2 separate regions of the Homo sapiens genome follow, and region 1 is linked to region 2. The links are contacts of gene promoters, found by promoter capture Hi-C in blood cells and fetal thymus (Javierre and others, 2016). All regions are on one chromosome and are shown on one strand. Each heading gives the region's core, a stretch centred on a gene start or on the middle of the fragment in contact. The rest is flanking DNA. Distances are from core to core; before and after follow the strand shown. Region 1 has its middle 3.9 kb from the start of LRRC37A3. Region 2 holds the start of SPPL2C (signal peptide peptidase like 2C).

The links. The method cuts DNA at HindIII sites, captures the fragments that hold promoters and counts their contacts. A CHiCAGO score of 5 or more calls a contact.
Region 1: a contact is called between a fragment that was not itself captured here and the fragment with the promoter of SPPL2C in region 2, in 4 of 17 cell types (endothelial precursors, M0 macrophages, M2 macrophages and 1 more). The highest score is 13.4, in endothelial precursors.

What each region holds. Positions count from the first base shown.
Region 1 is chr17:64,920,550-64,926,210 of GRCh38, reverse strand. No RefSeq gene overlaps it. Among named protein-coding and RNA genes, the nearest start is that of LRRC37A3, 3.9 kb to the right of the region's middle. RefSeq lists an enhancer at 5,331-5,661. The HindIII fragment of the contact is 2,201 bases long and covers 3,224-5,424 here.
Region 2 is chr17:45,840,576-45,846,242 of GRCh38, reverse strand. SPPL2C (signal peptide peptidase like 2C) reads right to left here and starts at 1,362. Exons shown (of 1, transcript NM_175882.3): 1 at 1-1,362. The coding sequence starts at 1,336. MAPT-AS1 (MAPT antisense RNA 1) reads left to right here. Exons shown (of 2, transcript NR_024559.1): 2 at 2,082-2,887. RefSeq lists enhancers at 1-455, 456-1,440 and a silencer at 5,586-5,667. The HindIII fragment of the contact is 7,159 bases long and covers 1-4,399 here.

The DNA of each region.
Region 1 (5,661 bases), core at 3,075-5,574, about 19 Mb before region 2:
GGCTCACTGCAACCTCTGTCTCCTGGCTTCAAGCAATTCTCTTGCCTCAGCTTCCCAAGTAGCTGGGATTACAGGTGTGTGCCACCACATCTGGCTAATTTTTGCATTTTTGGTTGTGCCACGTTGGCCAGGCTGGTCTCAAACTCCTGACTTCAGGCAATCCACCTGCCTTTGCCTCCCAAAGTCCTGAGATTACAGGTGTGAGCCACAGGGCCCAGCCTCTTTTCATATTTTTAAAAAAAAAGTTTTAACGAGCAGTGAGGACGACCAGAGGTCACTTTCGTCACCATCTTGGTTTTGGTCGGCTTCTTTACTGCATCTTGTTTTTTCTTTTTTTTTTTAAGACTGGGTCTCACTCTGTCACCCAGGTTAGAGTGTAGTGGCACAATCTCGGCTCAGTGTACCCTGCACCTCCCAGGCTCAAGTGATCCTCCCACCTCAGCCTCCCAAGTAACTAGGACCACAGGCACGTGCCACCAAGCTCAGCTAATTTTTTGTATTTTTGTTAGAGACAGGGTTTCACCATGTTTGCCAGGCTGGCCTTGAACTCCTGACCTCAGGTGACCCACCTCAGCCTCCCAAAGTGCTGGGATTACAAGCGTGAGTCTCTGTGTCTGGCCAACATACTATTGTCTCAATATGCATTTTGCCATACTTTTTAAGTGCATCTCTTCTGCTATCCTGTAGTACAACTTACTCTTGGAAATGATCAAAGCAAACTATATTACCCTAGGGACAAACCCATTGTGATTGGCATCCACGAACAAACTTGGTGTAAAGAAATCATATCTACGACCAAGAGGATTTCTTTCTCATTTGGAGATAAGAGTTTCACTTTGTCACCCTGCCTGGACTGCAGTGACATAAACACGGCTTGCTATAGCCTTGACCTGCCAGGCTCAAGTGATCCTCCTGACTTAACCCCTCAAGTAGCTACAGGTGCTCACCACCATGCCCAGCTACTTTTTTTTTTTGTAGAGATGGAGTCTTGCTGTGTTGCCCAGGTAACTTACCTCCTGAGCTCAAGTGATCCGCCTGCCTTTGCCTCCCAAAGTGCTGGGATGACAGTTATGAGCCACCTGTACCCAGCCATAAGAATATTTCTTAAAATCTGACTTAAAATTTTTTTAAAAATTCTTTTAGAGATAGGGTTTCACCATGTTGGCTAGGCTGGTCTCGAACTCCCGACCTCAGGTGGTCTGCCCACCTTGGCCTCCCAAAGTGCTTGGATTACAAGTGTGAGCCACTGTGCCCAGCCAAAATCTGACACATTTATAAATTTCTACAATAATTTTAAATACCAAAAATATTCCCAAAACGTTTCATCATGATTATTTTTCTTCCCAAATCTTATAGTCTCTCAGAAAAATAACTTAGCCCACGTTTCCTTTAAAGAGTTTTTAATTTTTTTAATGAAGGGCCGAATTAATTTTATTTTTCCTTCTTTAAAAAAATTCGTCCAGCACAGTGGCTCACACCTGTAATCCCAGCAGTTTGGGAGGCCGAGGGCGGAAGATCACTTGCGTCCAGGAGCTCAAGACCAGCCTGGACACATGGTGAAACCCCATCTCTACTAAAAAATACAAAAATGAGCCAGGTGTGGTGACGCATGCCTGTAGTGCCAACTACTTGGAAGGCTGAGGTTGGAGGCTCCCTTAAGCCTGAGAGGTGAAGACTTCAGTGAGCTGTGATGGCACCACTGTGCTCCAATGTAGATGACAAAGTGAGACCCTGTTAAAACAAAACAAAACAAAACTTTTTTTTGGAGATAGGGCCTCACTTGATCGCCCCGGCTAGAGTACAGTGGTGCTATCATGGCTCACTGCAGGGTCGACCTCCTGGGGTCAAGCAGTCCCCTGGCCTCAGCCTCGCCAAGTAGCTGAGACTACAGGTGTGCATCACAACACCCAGCAAATTCCTTTTTGTAGAAACAGGGTTTTGCCATGTTGCCCAGGCTGGTCTCAAAATCCTGGCCTCAAGTGATCCACCCACCTCAGCCTTTTAGAATGCTGGGATTACAGGCTGTGAGCCACAACTCTCTTGGCCTATAAATGATAATTTAAGTGAATCTCTGAAGCTACAGTTTTTTGTTTCGACATGGAGTCTCGCTCTGTCGTGCAGTGGCATGATCTCGGCTCACTGCAACCTCCGCCTTCTGGGTTCAAGTGATTCTCCTCCCTCAGCCTCCCAAGCAGCTGGGATTACAGGTGCCTGCCACCATGCCTGGCTAATTTTTGCATTTTTAGTACAGACGGGGTTTCGCCCTGTTAGCCAGGCTGGTCTCGATCTCCTGACCTCAAGTGATCCTTTCACCTCAGCCTCCCAAAGTGCTGGGATTATAGGCATGAGCCATTTCGCCCAGCCTCTGAAGCTATAGTTTTATAGATTCTAAAGCAGAGACTTCATATAGCTGTCTATGAAAAGCCAAAAACAAACAAAAAACCCACAGAAAAACCTGATTCCCCACGCCAAAATTTCAAGGATTTGCCTAAAGGTAAGGTCCATCTGTACCTGAAATAAAGTTTGCTGTGCCTCTTTTTTTGCAGGGTCACCCAGCCCTATGCACCAATTATACTAGTAACAATCATTACATGAGTACCTCAGGAAGCTTTTAAATATATCACAAATATTTTACCAAATAAACCTGAATGGCCCTGGTTTAATGAAACTGTTTCTCTGTCTATAGACTATCTAGTCTTATAAAGTCAAAAGAGAAGCAATGTGACAAATTATTCAACAGCCCTTCTCTATTTATAGAGAGAGACTGAACTTCTTCCTTGGTTAGAAAGAAAACCTTGAGTTTCATTTCCTAGTTCATATATTTTTATAACATCGTGGGACAGATTTTGGGAAAACCAAGATGGTATAGCGGGCGCACACTTTGATCCTCCCTCTCCCTTCAAGAACATACAAGTGAGAGTAAAATATAAAAAAGAGAAATTGAAAAGACATAGTCATGCTTAAATAAGTTACAACAATCTCAACGGAACAGACACAAAACTGTGAGCAGGACTAAAACTGCAGGCCTTCTAGACTCCAGATGCAGAAGGAGGAAGTGGTGGCTGAACACTAACAGTATGAGTTTCTCGGGGATAAGGGAGGCTAACATGCTGTGTGTGAGGCAGTGATAAGCGCTGGCTCCCTGCTGGAAGTTAAGGGTTGACTGGGCTACACTGGGCTTCAGGAGAGAAGAAAACAACACTCCTCTCACTCAAAATAAGCTTGCAAAATTCAAATGTTTGAAAATGAAAATGTGTAATATGAAAAAAAGATAACCAGGGCCCATACGGTGGCTCATGCCTATAATCCCAGCACTTTGGGAAGTCAAGGAAGGAAGATCACTTGCTTGAGCCCAGGAGTTTGAGACCAGCCTGGGCAACATGGCAAAACCTTGTCTCTACAAAAAAACAATGACAACAACAATAACAACAAAAAACACCCCAAAATTAGCCAGAGATGGTGGCAGGGCACGCGCCTGTAGTCCCAGCTACTTGGGAGCCTGAGGCGGAAGGACTTACTGATCTGGGTAGGGGGAGGCTGCGATGGGGTGTGATTGCACCACTGCACTGCAGCCTAGGAAAAAGAATAAGGCCCTGCTTCTCAAAAAGCAAAAAAAAAAAAAAGCCAATAAAATCAATGGTCTAATCTGAATTCACTCCAAATGAAATTATAGAGCAATTTGACAGGCCGGGCATGGTGGCTCACACCTGTAATCCCAGCACTTTGAGCGGCTGAGGAGGGAGGATCACTTGAGGTCAGGAGTTCAAGACCAGCTTGGCTAACATGGTGAAACCCCGTCTCTACTAAAAATACAAAAAAAGCTGGGCATGGTGGCAGGTGCCTGTAATGCCAGATACTCAGGAGGCTGAGGCAGGAGAATTGCTCCAACCCGGGAAGCGGAGATTGCAGTGAGCAGAGGCAGCCCTACGCCCTCCAGCCTGGGCAACAGAGCAAGACTCCATTTAAAAAAAAAAAATTAACCCTATTTAAAAAAAGAGGCAGAAATAAAAATAGGTAGATGTAAAGAAGGAATCACATATCTTATAAACTAAAAAGAAAATAAAATGTATTTTTAAAATATGCCAGTACTTATACATATTTGAAACTTTAGCAGAGACGGAGTTTCCTCATGTTGGTCAGGCTGGTCTTGAACTCAAAAGCAAATTACCTTAGCAATAATGTGTTTTTGTTTTTGAGACAGAGTCTCACTCTGTCGCCCAGGCTGGAATGTGGTGGCGCGATCTCGCCTCACTGCAACCTCTGCCTTTTAGGTTCAAGCGATTCTCTTGCCTGAGTCTCCGGAGTAGCCAGGACTACAGGTGTGCGCCACCACGCCCAGCTAATGTTTGTATTTTTGTAGAGATGGGGTTTCACTATGTCAGCCAGGCTGGTCTTGAACTCCTGGCGCCATGTGATTCACCTCCCTTGGCCTCCCAAAGTGCTGGGATTACAGACGTGAACCATTGCACCCGGCTCCTTCTTTCCCAAAGTATAATTTTTCTTCCTCATTAGATTGTTTTTGTATAAAATGTGTTTATATATGAACACATGCATTAAAACAATATATACAAGATATATTCTAAAGTTGTTTAAAAATGATTGTCTTTGGGGTTTAGATTTAGAGATCACTTTTATTTGTTGGCTTTGAAGTGCAACTGACCTATTTATTTACATATAAAGGATATAAACTACAAATATTTTCCCACTCTGTACAGAATGTGGAATGGAAACAGTGCATGGCACACCTTAAGTGTTAAATAAACATTTCCTGAGTGAATTGAATGGATACATCACACTATATATACACTAGTCTGTAATTTGGATTTTTTGTTCAAGCACTTGTCATTGGCAATTTCCTCCAAATAATTAAAAAATGAAAAACACCAATCCCACATTATTTTCTTAAAATGGAAGTACATTTTTTGGATATTCCAAAATGTATTCCAGTGGTTCTCAGCCGGAAGTGGTTCTGACACCTCCTAGTGGGAATGTATGGGGAGCGGGCAAGGTTACCTTTTTGGTTGTAAAAATGATGAGGCTGGTACTAGCCTTTGGTATCCGGGCCCAGAGATGCTAAACTTCTTCCTACAGTGTGTAAACTGGCTTGTCCAAAAGGCCAAAGCGCTTCTGTTGAGAAACACTGATGACCAATCTCCTCTATGTGGTCCTGTGAGACTGTGAAACACGTATTTGATCTTCCTGGTTCCTGGCATACAATTCCTAAAACCCTCAGAATCTGCAAAATAAGTCTTTTTTTTATGCTAATGATTGACTGATTAGGCTTTCCTAGACAGCCTCAGGATTGGGGCTGGTGGTCAGGGCTTTCAGTGCCACTCTCAACCTCTGAGAAAGAGAGAGAGGCTGAAGGTTAAGCTGACCACCAACGGCCAACGGTGTAATCATTAATGACTCTGTAATGAAGCTTCCATAAAAACCCAAATTGAGGCCGGGCACAGTGGCTCACGCTTGTAATCCCAGCACTTTGGAAGACTGAGGTGGGTGGATTACTTGAGGTCAGGAGTTGGAGGCCAGCCTGACCAACATGGTGAAACACCGTCTGCACTAAAAGTACAAAAAATTATCCAGGCATGGTGGCACACGCCTGTAATCTCAGCAACTCGGGAGGCTGAGTCATGAGAATCGCTTGAACCTAGGAGGCAG
Region 2 (5,667 bases), core at 113-2,612:
AGCCAAGGATGGAGAAGGGCTGGCTGCACAGGGTCAAGGCGGAGACTCTTAGCCGGGGCACTTTGAGTACCATGGGCAGCCTCTCATGGCTTGAAGACTCTGCAGGGCCCAAGGCAACCTGCGCCATGATGCTCTCACCGGTTTTGGTGAAGAAGGGGGTGACGAAGACAAAGAAGACATCAAAGGCCAGCAGGGCCAGCAGGAAGGAGGAGCAGTTCTTGAGAGTGGGCAGCCGCACACGGTGCAGGACGAACAGGCAGTAGGAAATGCCCAGTGTGTCCTGCAGGAGCCACGCCCAGCGGTCCTCATTGCGGTAGGCCACCCAGAAGATGATCACGGTTGCGCACAGGCTCGCCAGCAGCAGCAGAGGCAGCGGCAGAGAGGCCCAGAGGCTGTGCGGAGGCCTCTGGTATTGCCGCAGGGACAGGCGGCACACCAGGGGTGACAGGCAGCTGTAGAGGCCAATGCCAGCACCCAGGCCAAAGATCCCAATGGTGACATAGACAAAGTGGTCATAGAAGAAGTAGAGCAGCAGCATGAGCGAGCAGGACAGGGTGACCACCACGCCTGTCATGGCCGGCGTGAAGTCCACTGGGATGTCCTCATTATCTTCCTTCTGGGCTCCCTCAGCTGCTGCAGCTTCCTGCAGCTGATGGTGACCACCAGACCCCCCTCCTCTTCGGGCACGGCGCCGCTGTAGCCGGTTGGCTTCGGTCAGGCCGGCCCAGTAGCCGCCTGCAGCCACTGTGCCCACAGCCAGGATGAAGATGACCAGCATGTTGTAGTCGATGATGGGCTCTGGGGGTGCGTACATGGCCACGCGGACGACGGCCTCCCCACGAGTGTGGCTGAGGATGTCCAGCATGTCAGCATAGTGGAGCATAGCCACAGGGATGGTGAGGTCTGCCAGGGGCTGGCGGGGATCCTGGGGTGCCAGGGTGGTGTCTGAGCACTGTTGGTCACTGACCCGGCTCACGATGAGCAGCCCGTGGGCACCTTGGCCCTGAGCCAGCCAGCCTTTCGTGTGGAAGCTGCAGTTACCCCTCATGACCATGGCAGTGGTCTGGCGGAGGGGCCGCTGGCTGGGGGAGCGGAGCTGGGCCTGGTGGGGGGAATCCTCACCCGGGCACCAGGGTGCCTTGGTGCCATCATACAGGGGCAGGAGTGGGGCGTGGTGCAGGTCCCGGGGGAGGGTGATGTAGTCGGAGCTGAACAGGATACAGTAGTCCTTGCTCCAATTCTCCGACACCACGTGGGCCACGCCGTACTTTCCCCCGGCCACGGTGCTGATGAGGAGGAGGAAGCCCACGGGGAGGAGGAAGCCCAGGCACGCCATCTTCTTCAGTTCCTACTGCAACATCTGCGGGCGGCAGCCCAATACCCCTCCCAGGGGCAGGCGTGGCCCTTTGTCACAGAGCAGTCTGGCCACCTGTCCTGGAAACCAGGGCCACACCTACCTAGTCATAAAGCTGTGTGGTCCCCAGCCGAGGGCGCTGCTGTGGGGCACAGGGTCCCTCTAGAATGATGCCCCCCAACCCTGGGAGACCAGGGGAGAGGTCATATGGACCCTGCTCTCTGCCCAGACCCTAGTGGGTTTAGACCAGGTACTTTGAAATAAAAGGTGTGAGCATGGGGTTTGCAGGCCAGATAGGATTCTGAACCAACTTTTCTCCTTACCCATGGGGAACACAGGCCAATGTCACTCCTCTCTAGGCCTGTTTCTTTAGCTGTAAAGAAATGAGGACGTTGGGCCAGAGAGTTTCTAAGGTCCCTTGGAGCTCTGAGCTCAGTAACATTGAGCACTTTTACCGAGGGCTTACTAGGCGCCAGGTACCCTAGCTGTACCTATTGCACAGTTGCAAGGAGGTGTCATTATATCTGCACAGCCTGAGGCTGTCCCTCAAAGTTGGTCCCCATTTCTACCAGGCACATGACCAGAATTCACCTCCAACTCCATTTACAGTTGGGAACGGACAGGTGACCAGGAGAAATTAAGCAAAAATGATGTGAACTCTTTACATCAGGGGCTTAGGCTGACAGACCGTGGGGCTCCTGGTTTACCCTCTCTTTCCCTTTCTCAGGAGTCAGAACAAGGACGGGCCTGTGATGTGTCTGTCTATGACGAGGAGGACAATGTCCTAAGGAATGGAGAGGAAGAAAGTGAAGGGAACCAGGTCCCTGGATTCCATGTGGAACAGTAGCCCAGGATGTGCACTATGGACTGTTACAAGAGAGAGACATGATCTTCCTTAAGGCATTGATTTGTCATGAGTCTCTTTGTTATAGCCACTTAACGTTACCTTAATACACCCACTTCATGGATAAGTAAAACTGAGGCTTGGAGAAGCCCACATTGACACAGCAAAGAAGGCTGGGGCTCTTGTGCTGGTTAAATGGACCTTGATGTCTTCCAAATGTTTTCATGCTGGATTCTGAGCCACTCTCCTGGCTGCAACTCTGAGGCCGGGCAGACTTTCCGCTGGAAAGAGAACTCAAATACTGGTGAGAGGTGGATTTGAAGCCAGGAGCCCCAGGTTTTGGCTCTGCAGGTTTGCACCCAGCTCTGTGGTGTATGCCCTCACAGGTCACCCAGGACCTCCTGTCCAGGCTTCTTCAGGCCACCCATGATGGAGTAGATTTGAGGAATGAGGTTTTCAAAGCAGTTAGTGTGCGGGAGAGTAACCCTGGGGCCTCCGGAACCAGAAGGGAGGGATTTGGGGGCTGGAGCTTGGCAGTCCAGGTTCCATTGTCCTCATGTTCTCCCCACTGGCCTGGCCTGTCACTCCAGTCTCTGCATAGGTTGTCACATGGCATTCTCCCTGTGTGTCTCTGTGTCTCTTCTCTTCTTTATAAAGACATAGTTATAATGGATTAGGGCCCACCCTAATGACACCATCTTAACTTGATTATGTCTGCAAACACCCTACTTCCAAATAAGGTCGCATTAACAGGTACTGGGGTTTAGGACTTCAACATGCCTATTTGGGGGCACAATTGTGGGCAGCCCCACAACACACATGTAATTTTAACCTCTAAGGAGTAAGCATGCTGATTTTTTTTTTTTTTTTTTTTTGAGACAGGGTCTTGCTCTGTTGCTCGGCTGGAGTGCAGTGGCACGATCTCAGCTCACTGCAAACTCCACCTCCTGGTTTCAAGCAATTCTCCCCCGACCCAGCCTCCCGAGTAGCTGGGATTACAGGTGTGTGCCACCATGCCCAGCTAATTTTTGTGATTTTAGTACAGATGGTGTCTCACCATTTTGCCCAGGCTGGTCTCGAACTCCTGGCCTTAAGTGAATCGCCCACCTCAGCCTCCCGAGGTGCTGAGATTACAGGCACAAGCCACTGTGCCTGGCCAATCACTGATCTTTCTCAAGGACTCTCCTTCTTTTCTCTTTGAGATGGAGTCTCACTCTGTCCCCTAGGCAGGCTGGAGTGCAGTGGCACAATCTTGGCTCACTGCAACCTCCACCTCCCAAGTTCAAGCGATTCTCCTGCCTCAGCCTCCCAAGTAGCTGAGATTATAGGCGCCCACCACCATACCTGGCTAATTTTTGTATTTTTAGTAGACATGGGGTTTCACCATGTTAGCCAGGCTGGTCTCAAACTCCTGGCCTCAGGTGATCCAGCCACCTTGGTCCCCCAAAGTGCTGGGATTACAGGCGTGAGCCACCGTGCCTGTCAAGGCCTCTCCTTCTATTACGGGTCCATCTCTTGCAGTCCCAAACTGCTTTCCTTGGGAAATCCACAGGGATGAAACATCATCTCCAACATCAGCTGTGGATTCTTTGAAGTGGAGGGTGAGTTTAAAGGGCCATGTGAAGTGGTCAGCAAGTGGAACCCATCTGAGATTCTGACAATTCTCTCTCACCCAGTTATTTACACTCATCTCACCCACACCTAATTTGCCAATATTTTTGGTGACTCATTTGTAAAGTATCCTTCAAAGCATTAGACTGAATTTTCATAAGAAACATCTCTCCTTGTTAGTGCACTTCTGATTCATCAGTAATATAACATTTAGTTAGATTACGACAGTAATTACAATGACAAGTGAACTGTCAGAAACATGTTCAGGAACAAATACAAGTGACTGGCAAACAAACCACCAGCCGGTGTGAGGAGAAGCAGGCAGAGCCCAGGGGAGGAGGCTGCCAGCTGTCCCTTCCGAGTGCTCCCATTTCAAAGGGGAGGTTGGCAGGAGGGTGGTTAGGAGAGGGAGGCTCGCCTGTAGGCCACAGGAGGGCTGTGACAGTAAAACCCTTTCTGGCCCCCCAGCAACGAATGGGCAACCTAGACCCTCACTCCAGGCCCTGTTCTCCACGCAGGGAGTCGTGGATCTTTTAAAAAACAAGAACCAGCACACCCACTTTGTCACAAAACCCAGACAATCACAAGCTTTGTCGAGGATATAGGGAAGTTGGGACCCTCATACACTGCTGGTGGGAATGGAAAATTGTGCAGCCGCTGCAGGAAACAGCTTGGTGGTTCCTAGATAAGTTAAGCAGAGTTATCATATGACCCAGCACTTATACTCCCAGCTATATATCCCAAAGAATTGAAATCAGGCCTTCAAACAAAAGCGTGTACATGCATGCTCATAGCAGGACTATTCATGATAACTTGGAATAGGTGGAGAGAACCCATATGTCCATCCACTGATGAATGGAGAAACTGCGGTCTCTCCACACAAGGGAATAGCATTCAGCCATAAGAAGGAATGACGTTTTGATACCTGCTACCATGTGGATGGACCTTGAAAACATTATGCTAAGCCGAAACACATTATGCTAAGTGGAAACACATTATGCTAAATGAAGACGCCAGACACAAAAGGACACATATTGTACGATTAATTCCACTTACGTGAAACAGCCAAAACAGGCAGATCTACAGAGGCAGAGAGCAGATTCGTGGCGGGCAGGGGCTGGGGGAGGGGAGAATGAGGAGTGACTGGTGGGTATGGGATTTCCATCTGGGGTGATGAAGAAGTTCCAGAACTTTTTCTATCTCAGTGGTTTCAGTTGCACGACATTGTGTATTTAAAGTCACTGAATTGTGCACTAACATGGTTGAAATGGGACTTTTTTTTGAGATGGAATTTCGCTCTTGTCCCTCAGGCTGGAGTGCAGTGGTACAATCTCAGCTCACTGCAACCTCCACCTCCCGGGTTCAAGTGATTCTCCTGCCTTAGCCTCCCGAGTAGCTGGGATTACAGGCATGCACCACCACCATGCCCAGCTAATTTTCGTATTTTTAGGAGAGACAGGGTTTCACCATGTTGGCCAGGCTGGTCTCGAACTCCTGGCCTCAAGTGATTCACCCACCTTGGCCTCCCAAAGTGCTGGGATTACAGGTGTGAGCCACAGCGCCCAGACGAAATGGAGCAACTCCAGTCCCCTCCAGCTGCTCTCTCCTCAGGACAGGTCTCATTTTAGTTCTTCTGGACTCCATCACACCAGCACATGCCCCAATTTGGGGGTCTGCACAGACACCTCAAGCAGAGCTTGCTCCTGCCCCTTCTCCCAGATCTACCCGTGGACTGGTTGCCCAGGGCCCAGATAATTCGCAGAAGGCTCATTCCCTCCGAGACTCTGCCTGGGACCCCACTCACAGAAGGCTTTCGTGGGTATGTTTGATCATTGCTTCCCCAGGTCCCCCATCCCTG